Regions from separate parts of the Homo sapiens genome. Here regions 1 and 2 are each linked to region 3. The links are contacts of gene promoters, found by promoter capture Hi-C in blood cells and fetal thymus (Javierre and others, 2016). All regions are on one chromosome and are shown on one strand. The core of a region is centred on a gene start or on the middle of the fragment in contact, and the rest is flanking DNA. Distances in the headings are between cores, read along the strand shown.

Evidence for each region. The method cuts DNA at HindIII sites, captures the fragments that hold promoters and counts their contacts. A CHiCAGO score of 5 or more calls a contact.
Region 1: a fragment that was not itself captured here is called in contact with the fragment with the promoter of CDR2 in region 3 in 9 of 17 cell types (M0 macrophages, erythroblasts, M1 macrophages and 6 more); the score reaches 10.8 in M0 macrophages.
Region 2: a fragment that was not itself captured here is called in contact with the fragment with the promoter of CDR2 in region 3 in 4 of 17 cell types (neutrophils, non-activated CD4 T cells, naive CD8 T cells and 1 more); the score reaches 6.9 in neutrophils.

Annotation. Positions count from the first base shown.
Region 1 is chr16:21,563,556-21,567,464 of GRCh38, forward strand. No RefSeq gene overlaps it. Among named protein-coding and RNA genes, the nearest start is that of METTL9, 34 kb to the right of the region's middle. The HindIII fragment of the contact is 1,772 bases long and covers 1,526-3,297 here.
Region 2 is chr16:21,605,156-21,608,726 of GRCh38, forward strand. The region is part of intron 1 of METTL9 (methyltransferase 9, His-X-His N1(pi)-histidine); the gene reads left to right. Among named protein-coding and RNA genes, the nearest start is that of METTL9, 7.4 kb to the left of the region's middle. The HindIII fragment of the contact is 4,521 bases long and covers 1-3,571 here.
Region 3 is chr16:22,373,310-22,377,161 of GRCh38, forward strand. CDR2 (cerebellar degeneration related protein 2) reads right to left here and starts at 1,310. Exons shown (of 5, transcript NM_001802.2): 1 at 922-1,310. The coding sequence starts at 1,000. CDR2-DT (CDR2 divergent transcript) reads left to right here and starts at 1,578. Exons shown (of 3, transcript NR_148970.1): 1 at 1,578-1,914; 2 at 2,018-2,251. RefSeq lists a silencer at 843-1,072 and enhancers at 1,613-1,692, 2,033-2,082. The HindIII fragment of the contact is 4,746 bases long and covers 1-2,161 here.

The DNA of each region.
Region 1 (3,909 bases), core at 1,162-3,661, 810 kb before region 3:
AAAGGAGAAATTCCCTCTCTATTCTTGAAGTAGCAACAGTTTATAGGGACTCAAGTTTTCTTTTCACGAATTCGAAAGAAACTATACGGACACATTCACCTTACTGAGGTTTCTCTGGCCTTGTCCATTCTGAGCTCCTGTTTTTTCTGCAGAGGTGCTCATTGATACTGACTTGGTGATCTTGAAAGGATTCTCTGTATTTCTCTTTTTTTAAATAGAGATAGGGTCAGTCTTGCCATGTTTACCAGGCTGGTCTGAAACTCTTGGCCTCAAGTGATCCACCTGCCTCAGCCTCCCAAAGTGTTGGGATTACAGGTATGGACCACTGCGCTGGGCCAGGGTTGTCTGTTTTTATATGAATGACCATAAAGTTATTTCACTGATGCCATCAGGAAGCAACCTTATTAATTTTATGTATTTTTGAGCTGATGTTGATAGCAGAAGAGTGGAAAGGAGTCAGACTTTGCTTTAGTCTCGTGATGTAGAAGATCCTAAAGATAGGATTCAAGGTGAGAGTATGATCATTTATATGGCCCTCTTCACCTCACAGAGCTGAATTTACCAATAATTTGGCAGGTATAAGCTAGGAAAATGAAGTAAAAGGGTCCAGACAGTAATATTTTAGAATTCTGTTACCTGCGGGTGGATACTTTCTTCTTTTGAGAATAGAAGATTAGGCTGGGTGCAGTGGCTCATGCCTGTAATCCCAGCACCTTAGAAGGCTGAGGCAGGCAGATCACTTGAGTCTAGGAGTTTGAGACCAGCCTGGGCATCATAGCAAGACCCCGTCTCTACTAAAAATACAAAAAAAAAAAAGTAGCTGGCTGTGGTGGTGTGTGCCTGTAATACCAACTACTCAGGAGGCTGAGGTAAGAGAATCACTTGAACCCAGGAGGTGGAGGTTGCAGTGAGCCAAGATTGTGCCACTGCACTCCAGCCTGAGTGACAGAGCAAGACTCTGTCAGAAAAAAGAAAGAAAAGAGAGAGAGAGAAAGGAAGAGGGGAAGGGAAGGAAGGGAAGGAAGGAAGAGAGAGAGGAAGGAAGGAAGAGAGAGAGAGGAAGGAAGGAAGGAAAAGGAAGGAAGGAAGGGAACAGAAGATTAGTTGAGCATAGTGGCTCAGTGCCTGTAATCCCAGCACTTTGGGAGGCCGAGGTAGGCAGATCATTTGAGCCTAGGAGTTCAAGACCAGCCTGGGAAACATGGCAAAATCCCATCTCTACAAAAAATAGAAAAATTAGCTGGGCATTGTGGCATGCATCTGTAGTCCCAGCTACTTGTGGGGCTGATGCAGGAGGGTCACTTGAGCCCAGGAGGCAGAGGTTGCAGTGAAGTATGATTATGCCACTGCACTCCAGCCTAGGTGGCAGAGTGAGACTCTGTCTCAAAAAAAAAAAAAAAAAAAAGAAGATTGTGAGCAAAAATTGAATGCAATTTTTTTCATAAGCAGAGGTGTAATGGTTATTATTACAAAAGATGATATTAAATTTATTTATGTATTATCTCTTTGCCTCCACCAGAATGTAAGCTTTGTTGAAGGCAAGGATCATTGTTGATTTATTTACTCTGTATCCCAGGCATCTAAAACAGTAAGTGTGCAATAAATATTTGTTGAATGAATCAAAGCATAAGCAAGGCTTCAGATTCATTTTTCTATCAGAGATTCATTTAAAAATGTTAAGGAAATGAGAGGTGAAGACATCCTAAAGGCATAATACTCAAAGTAGTCAGTAGGTTCATTGATAACCCAGAGGAAAATATATAATATTATAGAGGAAAAGAAATTCTCTGAAATCATGGCATCTCTCCTAGCTTGGGATAACATTTTAGCAGAAAGACCGAAGAACTCTTCCAAGAAACATCAAGCAATTAAATGAAGTAGTAGAAAAATCACCAGTACTTTAAAGTAGATGAAGCCATTAAAATAGTTGCAGCTTCAGTAATCACCATGTAAGCCTGTAAGTGGTGGGTCTTAGACCACAACATGGTAGTTATCAAATTGCTTTATTCATCGAAATGTTCATTCTCCTGGCTGCCCTTGAACTTCCAGCCTAAGGCTTTCTCTCTGCAGGGTTGTCAGCATGCTCATGCAAGGCTTTGCCTCTGCAGATTATCAGAGGTGTACTCCATGCCCCTCTCACCATGAAAAAAGGGAGAAAAAGACAATTTCGTCTCAGAGATAGAAAATCTCCCAGAGAGAACCCCTGGCAGCTGGAATCCATTTTTTTCCCCCTGAAGCTGGAATCTGTTATAACTACAGAACACTGAAGGATAATGAGGTTCTGCTGCTAAGCAAATGCTGGGACAAAAAGCACAGAGGTGCTGCAGCCAGGCAGAGACTGGGCTTTTCATGAAACCCTGTGTCTCTGAGCACATATTGCAATAATTCTCTGACTAGCTGCTCAAGGCCTTGGCTTCGTGGCTTTTTACTCCGTTTAAAGGTCTTGATCAGGCCACTTCCGTTTTTAATGTTTGAGAAATGTCTGATTTATGCTGCTTCAAAGTGGAACTTGGGTTTCTATTACCTTTTTGGCACCTTGCACCCATTGTTGGCCTAATTCTGCTGTCTCGTCTATCTTGTGGTTCCTATCAGTAAACAAAGTCCAGGAGAGGCGTCATGCTTGTGAACACCTCCAACATCAAGTTCAAAAGTACAATCATGACCTTGTCCTGTCGTTCTCAGAATCTGGGCTCAGCTATTTCAAACCTCCCATGTCTTCACTGGTAGTGGTCAATTAGAAATCACTGAATCCTTTCCCTAGAGTGGTCAGAGACAGCCAGTTTATGGTAATTTGGGCACAAGTGCCAATTGGAAAGGTGCATTATTCAAACCACTTTGGCTACAAGTGACAGAAATTCAATGCAGGTTAGCTTAAATAAAAAAGGAATTCGGGCTGGGAACAGTGGCTCATGCCTATAATCCCAGCATTTTGGGAGGCCGAGGCGGGTGGATCACCTAAGGTCAGAAGTTCTAAACCAGCCCGGGCAACACGGTGAAACCCTGCCTGTACTATAAATACAAAAAATTAGCCAGGCATGGTAGTGCACGCCTGTAGTCCCAGCTACTCTGGAGGCTGAGGCAGAAGAATCACTTGAACCCGGGAGGTGGAAGTTGCAGTGAGCCAAGATCACGCCACTGTACTCCAGCCTGGGCGACAGTGAGACTCTGTCTCAAAAAAAAAGAAAAAAAGAAAAAAAAGGGAATTTATTGGCTTCTGTAGCTGAAAAGTCAGGCAGATTTGGATCTCAAATTATGTCATTAACTAGTTTCTCTGACTTACCCTCTGCGTTGTGTATAAGCTTTTCATCGCATGGCAGCAAGATACCTCCATGTTCACATAGGGCTAACAGCCCAAGATGGTGAGGAAACATGCACTTTTGTTCCAGTAGCACAGAAAAAGTCCCCAGGTGGACGCTAATGGGCACTGTATGAGTCAAGTGCTCATGGCTGAGGCAGTAGTTGTACCTTGACACATGAAGTCCTCTGACCAGATCTGGGCATGTACCTGACCTTGGGGATGGAAGTGAGGCAGTCCAGCTCCACCAACTCGTAAGGACTGAGACAGTTTACTAGGGAAGAGGGGAAAGCGTGTTTCTTACAGGAAGAAATGCGGGCAGACAAAACACCATATACCCCTTAAATTAGGTTTTCCACAGATAATTGAGGTGGAGCAGAAGGGTAACCACATTTTGACAGCATCATCAGTATGTGGTGAGTGGCCCAGCATTTGACCCTGGCCTCTGTGGTCATCTCAGAGCCCAGAAAGTAGCAGCAGAAGAGCAGAGCATGGGTAGGTAACCATCAGTTCTTGGATAACTGAAGGGTGATCTTGAGGAGCAGTGAGTCTGTGGGATGGCCATGCCTAACAAATGTCATCCAGTTCAGAGCACCAAGGACATTCCCAGCTAT
Region 2 (3,571 bases), core at 249-2,748, 770 kb before region 3:
ACCCAGCTTTGGTTTCAAGGCAACACATTTTCTGCTGCTTTATGATGCCCCTCCTGGTAAACCTTGTGTTGTCTGAGGGGTGGTAAAAATAGGCTTGCCTTCTTTTTTTTTTTTTTTTTTTTTTTTTTTTTTTTTTTTTTTGAGAAACAAGTTCTTACTCTGTCACCCAAGTTGGAATGCAGTGGCCTGATCATATCTCACTGCAGCCTCAAACTCCTGGCCTCAGTACATCCTCCTGCCTCGGCCTCCTGAGTAGCTTCTAAATCTTTTGTAGAGGCAGGGTCTTGCCATGTTGTTCAGGCTGGTCTCAAACTCCTGGCCTCAAGCAGTCCTCCTGCCTCAGTCTCCCAAAGTGCTGGGATTACAGGCGTGAGCCACTGCTCCTGGCCTAGGCTTGCCTTCTGAATAGGAAACTGCCCTCATTCTAGTGAGGCCTCTGTGTAGACACTGAAGTTAGGTAGCTGTGTGCACAATACTTGTTGAAGATTTTGTAGTTTGTGAATTAGATGAGAATAAGACAGCTGCTTGAAGTTCTGGCCTTTATCTGGTTTGTGCATGCTTTTTTTAAGGCTTAAAGTTGAAAAAAGATTCTTACATGTATTGTCATTTTTTCCTGACATCAGCCATTCTCTAATTTTCCATCACCAAGTGGGTGTTTAATTGTTCAATCCTGTTCTGACATTAACTACCTGGAGTTAGGGTCACGCTTTACAGAGTTAAGAGCTCAGTCCCACAAGACTGCCCTCACTTCAGAGGCCAGCTGGAAGTCCTGGGTTCCCAGGCTGCCAGTGCTTTTGTCCACCTTGAACAAATTTGGGAGTTCCCACAACTCTACCTTCACCCTACCCCACCCCACCCCCTAATTTCCTATAATAGAATGACTCATAGAACTTAGGAAAACACAGGTGCGGTGGCTCACGCCTGTAATCCCGGCACTATGGGAGGCTGAGGTGGGTGGATCACGAGGTCAGGAGATCAAGACCATCCCGGCTAACAGGGTGAAACCTGGTCTCTACTAAAAATACAAAAAAATTAGCTGGGCGTGGTGGCACGTGCCTGTAATCCCAGCTACTGGGGAGGCTGAGGCAGGAGAATCGCTTGAACCGTGGAGGCGGAGGTTGCAGTGAGCTGAGATTGCGCCACTGCACTCCAGCCTGAGCGACAGAGCGAGACTCCGTCTCAAAATAATAATAATAATAATAATAAACCACTTAGGTTTACTGGTTTATTACAAAGGATACAATTGGGGAACGGCCAAGTGGAAGAGGTGCATAGGGTGAGGTGTGGGAGGTGGTGTAGAGTTTCTCTTTCCTCTGATGAGCCACCCAACCATCATATCAATGTATTCAGCAAACTAAAAGCTCCCAGGACCCCATAGTTTAGGGGTGTCATTACATAGGCATGATTAGACTCAGTCTTCAACTCCTTTCTCATCCTTGGAGATTGGAAGGTGGGGCTGAAAGTTTGAACCTTATACCCACATCCTGGTCCCCATCCTGAAGCTGTCTGGGTCTCCCACCCCTATCAGGAGTCATCCTGTTAGCATACAAAAGATACTCTTATTACCCTGAGATTCCCGAAGGGTTTTAGGAACTCTCTATCAGGAACCTGGGACAAAGATCAAATATGTATTTTTTATTATACCACATCATCTAAAATCAGTCAGTTTTTAAAATTACTTTCTGACTCTGCTAGTGTGCTTAAATCCTTTGTATTTTGGGAATGTTGTATTTTGGATATGTTGTATATCACATGTTTGATTAGTTGATAAACTCCAAAAATAATTTCAGAAAAACTTTTAACCATATTTGGTCTGATTAGCAAATCTAATTTTATAGGAAAATTGCATTCCTACTTTGAACGAGTGATTCATCAACCAAGGTTATATATAAATATTAGGAGGAGTTCATGGGCTTAATGAGAAATTTTTTTTTTTTTTTTGACAGTCTTGCTTTGTCGCCCAGGCTGGAGTGCAGTGGCACACTCTGGGCTCACTACAACCTCTGCCTCTCTGGTTCAAGTGATTCTTTTGCCTTAGCCTCCCAAGTAGCTGGAATTATAGGTTCCTGCCACCACGCCTGGCTAATTTTTGTATTTTTAGTAGAGACGGGGTTTCACCATGTTGGCCAGGCTGGTCTTGAACTCTTGACTTCAAGTGATCTGCCCACCTGGGCCTCCAAATTGCTGGGATTACAGGTGTGAGCCATCGTAGCCAGCCAGGAAATTTTTAAGACAGTATGACCTAATATTTAATAACTTCGGTTGGCGAATACTGTCAGACATGCATTCAAAACGCGTGGCAGCCACCTGATTTGGCTGTTTACTGCCTGGCCAATTATTAGTATCTTTGCAGTTGTGTTGCCAGTAGGGAGAATATTGCTATTTACTGTAATTTTTAGATATCACATCCTGTTCTGTACTTGGCATCAGCAGATGACTGAATGGAATCATTCTCATTTGATTAGAATTTGTCATTTAAAAGATTCCCTTGTTTATTTAGATGAAACAACATTTGAGTGAGCTTTAAAGGCAGATGCTAATAAGATGCTTTTTCAGACATGGTAGGCTCCAGCCAAGGAGTCCAGCCTCACAGTAGAGTGGGCGTGTAGTCCTGTCAGTGTGTGAATTTAACGGGCATAGTACTTTGTTCTTGCCTGTGCACCTTTGTCTCTGTAGTCTTTAAGGAGCACACATTTAAAGAACTCACCTGCGGCTGGGCGCAGCGGCTCACGCCTGTAATCCTAGCACTTTGCGAGGCCGAGGCAGGCAGATCACCTGAGGTCAGGAGATCAAGACCAGCCTGGCCAACATGGTGAAACCCCATCTCTACTAAAAATACAAAAATTAGCCAGGCGGGGTGGTAGGTGCCTGTAATCCCAGCTGCTTGGGAGGCTCAGGCGAGAGAATCACTTGAACCCGGCAGGCAGAGGTTGCAGAGAGCCTAGATCACACCACTGCACTCCATCCTGGGCGACAGAGCAAGACTCCGTCTCAAAAAAAACAAAGAACTCACCTGCTTGAAAGTACACAGGAGCATACAGACAAGCCACCCAGTGCTGCGAGCTTAGCGTAGCTTTTTATCTAAGCTGGTTGTTTGGAGAGAGGTGAAACCAGGAGTCCTGCCCATTGGGTTAAAGGGGTTCCTGCAGATTTTTTCTCTCCTTGGTCCTTGGTATTTCACCTTAAGGGCAAGGTGACTGCTCCTTTAAGGCTCTGAAGCTCCTCGCCAAGATCATAGTCACATTACTTGTTTCCCTTGGTTTCTGATTTTATTTTCACTCTGGAATGTAAGTTCTCTGAGGCCAGCGAGTCCATCTTTTAATTCAGTCAGCTGGAGTCCCTAGACCATAGTTAGGCTGGGATAGTGGGAAACACTACTGGAGAGTCAGTACAGTGACATTTTGTGGGTAAGGCCATGTATGGGTTCTCAAGCAGTGGCAGTTTTGCCTCCCAGGGGACATTTGGCAATGCCTGGGACATTTTGGGCTGTCATTTGGGGTAGTGCCACTGTAACCTGATGGATAGGCACTAGGAATGCTGCTGAACATCCTACAATGTGCAGGTCAGCCCC
Region 3 (3,852 bases), core at 60-2,559:
AACTGAAGAAAAGTGGCAGAGATAGATGCGCTCTTTCTTCTGTCGTTTCAATTGGCATCTGGTGAACTATGCCTAACAGCTTAACGCCCAACTGAAAAAAACTGTAAACTAGGATGGTAAGGAAGAGATGGGGTTTGAGCAGTGACTACAACTCTTCTTCTGAGTGTGTGGGTTCAAAAAACACTCCCTCCCACACTTAGCTTTAGGCAAGCCACTTTACCGTTTTAATCTCCGCTTTCCTCATATGGAAAATGGGATAACAAAAGTGTGTAATTGGATTGTTTGTACCTCAATGGATAAATGCTGGGATGGACGCCCCGTTCTCCATCACGTGCTTATTTCACACTGCGTGCCTGTATCCAAACATCTCATGTACCCCACAAATATATACACCTACCATGTACCCTCAAACATTAATTTTTAAAAAGTTACTGTCTCCTGGAGTTACGGTGCGGAGCGCACAGCTCCCGCTACGCCGCAAAACAACTACCACCTGCAGCAGCCGGCCCTCCACGCTGGCCATGAAAGGCGCTGGGCTAGACAGCCTGCGACGGGGCGGCTTCTCGGGCTATGCCACTTACTGCGGGACACACTGGCTCACCCGGGTCTGCCTCGGAGGAATGCAGTGAGGATTAAACTAGCTAATCCACGGAAAGCGCTTAAAACGGTGCCTGGCTCGTCCCTGGCCCCCACGCGCCTCGGGGCTGATATTCAACTGCGCATTAGCAAGGCCGTGGGCCCCGTGCCGAGGCTTCCTGCGGGCGGGATCCGCGGGCACGGCCGGCCCAGCCGCCAGGTGAGCCTGAGCCCTTCCCGGCACCTGCATCCTCCGCCGCCACAAAAAGCAACTTTTTAACAGTTTCGCAGCGGGGGCCTCCCGGGCCAGGCCGCCGCCCGCCCGCGGGGCGCCCCCGCCCTCACCTTGCTGGAGGTCCTGGTGGTCGTACCACGGCTCGTCCTCCTTCATCTCAAACTCCTCTACCAGGTTTTCCGCCAGCATCTCGGCTGGGTCTTCTAGGGGCAGCGGCCCCCGCCGCCGTCCCGCCTCAGCCGCTGCCCCGGGCTCTTCCCCGGCCCCTCCGCCCTCAGCCAGAGCCGCCCTCGGGCGGGACGCGCCGCCGCCCAGACTCCGCTGCGCCGCCTCAGCCCCGTTCCCGCCGGCGGCCGCCGACCGGCCGGCTGCCTCGACTCGCCTCGCGCCTACCGACGGCCCCAACGGCCGGGCATTACGGTGCGAACGCCTGGAGCCGGAGTCTCACGCAGCCGCCAGTCTTCACGCCGCCGCCGGGCCCAACGTGGCACTTTGGCAGAACCCTCCCCGGCCGGGGATGCGATTCAAACCCCCGGCGGCGCCTCAACCAATCGCGAGCGGGCTGCTGGCCGAGCGGCAGGGACTTCGTCCAATCGCCTCTCTCCAAAGACCGGCGGCTCGCCCGGTATCGAGGGCAAGCAGCCAATGGTGGGTCCGGAATAAACAAAGAAGGCGGGGAAAGAGTGAAGGGGTGCGGCCGAAAGCCCGTCCCCTGATCTGCGCTGTGAGGCTCCTAGGAGGGCGTTCTGGGTTTCGGGCTGGGGAGCTGGCAGAGGCGCGTCTTACCCCTGTGGTGGGTGTCCCGAGGCCGGCGCGTCTGTGGACAGGCAACGCAGGCCGGAGGGCCTAGGACTCCGGCCTCTGAGAGGCGGGCGGTTGTCCAGGGGAGTCCTTCGTGCCGGCGGGAAGCGCAAGGGTGCCGGAAGCCTGAGGTCCGCCGCCCGGCCACCCCTTCTCGCATCTTGACTCTGAGATTTGCTCCGGGTCCGGCGGGGAGACTCGAGGTCGATCGGGAGTTTGGGTTGAGAAAACGCCCACTGAGCGGTAGCTCTTGTCTCCTTGACATCTGAGCCCTGGGAATTAAACTCACGCTACATAAAACGGTGGGCACCAGACCCCCTTGAGAATCTGGGGCGGTGAGGGATGCCCGAAGCTGTCCACTTGGAGGGCGAAAATTGTAAGCAGTGTTGCAACGATTTTTAAAAGGTACCCCTAGACCACAAGTTAAGCATCTGGGGACGTGACATTGCACCTGGAGGGGACAGGCTGCAGCTCCAGCACTTAGTAGCCAGCGAGGCAGAGCACGCTGTCCTCCACCGACATAACCCAGCAAATACTGCTCCTAGGTAAAGCTTTAAGCACCATCTTGCAGACAAAGCACGGAAACTCTTAAGCAGGATGACAGACCTGAAGGTCAATGTTCTCAACCTTGACGTAAAGGTAAAGGTGCAGCTGATGGAAGACAACAGGGCCAATATCTAACTAACTTTGAGCAACGAAACAAAAAAAAATCGAGGTTTAAGTATACAATTGAAAGATTATCTCTAGAACATGAGGTAATAAACTGTTAGAAATTCAGAGAGAGGGAAGAGGTGGAGAGGAGTGTTAAATCCTGATCTATTTTAGAAGTGAGTCGACAGATAATACCTTACATTGATAATCCAATGAATAGTTTCCACAAATATGGAGAGAGCTGCCAGAACTAAAAATGGGAAGCAATTAAGAGTTTTCCGAGGCTGGACACGGTGGCTCACGCCTGTAATCCCAGCATTTTGGGAGGCCGAGGCGGGCGGATCACCTGAGGTCGAGAGTTCGAGGCCAGCCTGACCAACATGGAGAAACCCCATCTCTACTAAAAATACAAAATTAGCTGGGCGTGGTGGCGCATGCCTGTAATCCCAACTACTTGGAAGGCTGAGGCAGGAGAATTGCTTGAAACCCGGGAGGTGGAAGTTGCAGTGAGCCGAGATTGCGCCATTGCACTCCAGCCTGGGCAAAAACTGCGTCTCAAAAACCAAACAAAAAAAAAAAGTTTTCCTAAGAGGAGGAGTGATTTGAGGCTGGGGACTTTGGCTTTTTGTTATAAACCCTTCTGTGATCTTGCTTTTTTAGTTACTTGCACATTAAAAATAAGGGAAATTGTAGGGAAGGAATTATAGACTCAAGCTACTTTTTTTGTCTTTCTGTATAAAAAAAGACTTGGGTAATTTGGAAGGGGGGAAAAACTCATCCTGAATAATTCTTGTGGGTAATAAAATTCAGGGTGTCTCTCTGCCTCCCATCTTTGCTCAAACCAGCATAACCTAACCTCACGCTGATGCTGTATCAAACAGCACTTGACTCCAGGGTTACCTTACACATAGGCTGTAGGCTACTCTGGAGAAGTCTTGCCAAGGACAAGACCTCCCACTGTGGAGTTGTTACCTGAAGTTTTACCCTTCAGTCCTTAAAGGAGACTGCTGAATAGAGTGGAAAGCACAAGGGACCTAGAGTGAGAAAACCTAGAGTTCTCGCCATACTCAGTACCAGCAGAGAAGCCTTTTAGCAAACAGTTTACAGGAAAGATGATTGTTTGCCTTGCTCACAGAGCTATCTGAATCAGAGAGACCCTGAAAGCAAGTATTTTGTGCTCATTTTAAATGTAAGGCTGTGTTCTTGTGACCTATACTGTAGAAGTGCAGGTACCCTTGAGGACCAATTATGAGCATCACAATAAATAATCATAGTAATGGATTATAACCCATTGAATAAAAAGGAAAGAATCCATGAGTCCATACTGACATAAATAAATGGGAGAGAAAAGAAAACTTTCTTACAGTAGGATGCCAAGCAAAAAATGTAGAAGGAATAACACTGTTAGAAAGTAATAATAATAATAAAAGAGGAATGGTAAACTCACAAATCCCTTTCTTCAAAAAGGCAAAATGTTACTGGCACACCTGTAGTCCCAGCTACTTGGGGGGCTGAGGTGAGAGAATTGCTTGAGTCCAGGAGTTTGAGGTTACGATGAGCTATGATAGGTGACAGCAGAGCAAGACCCT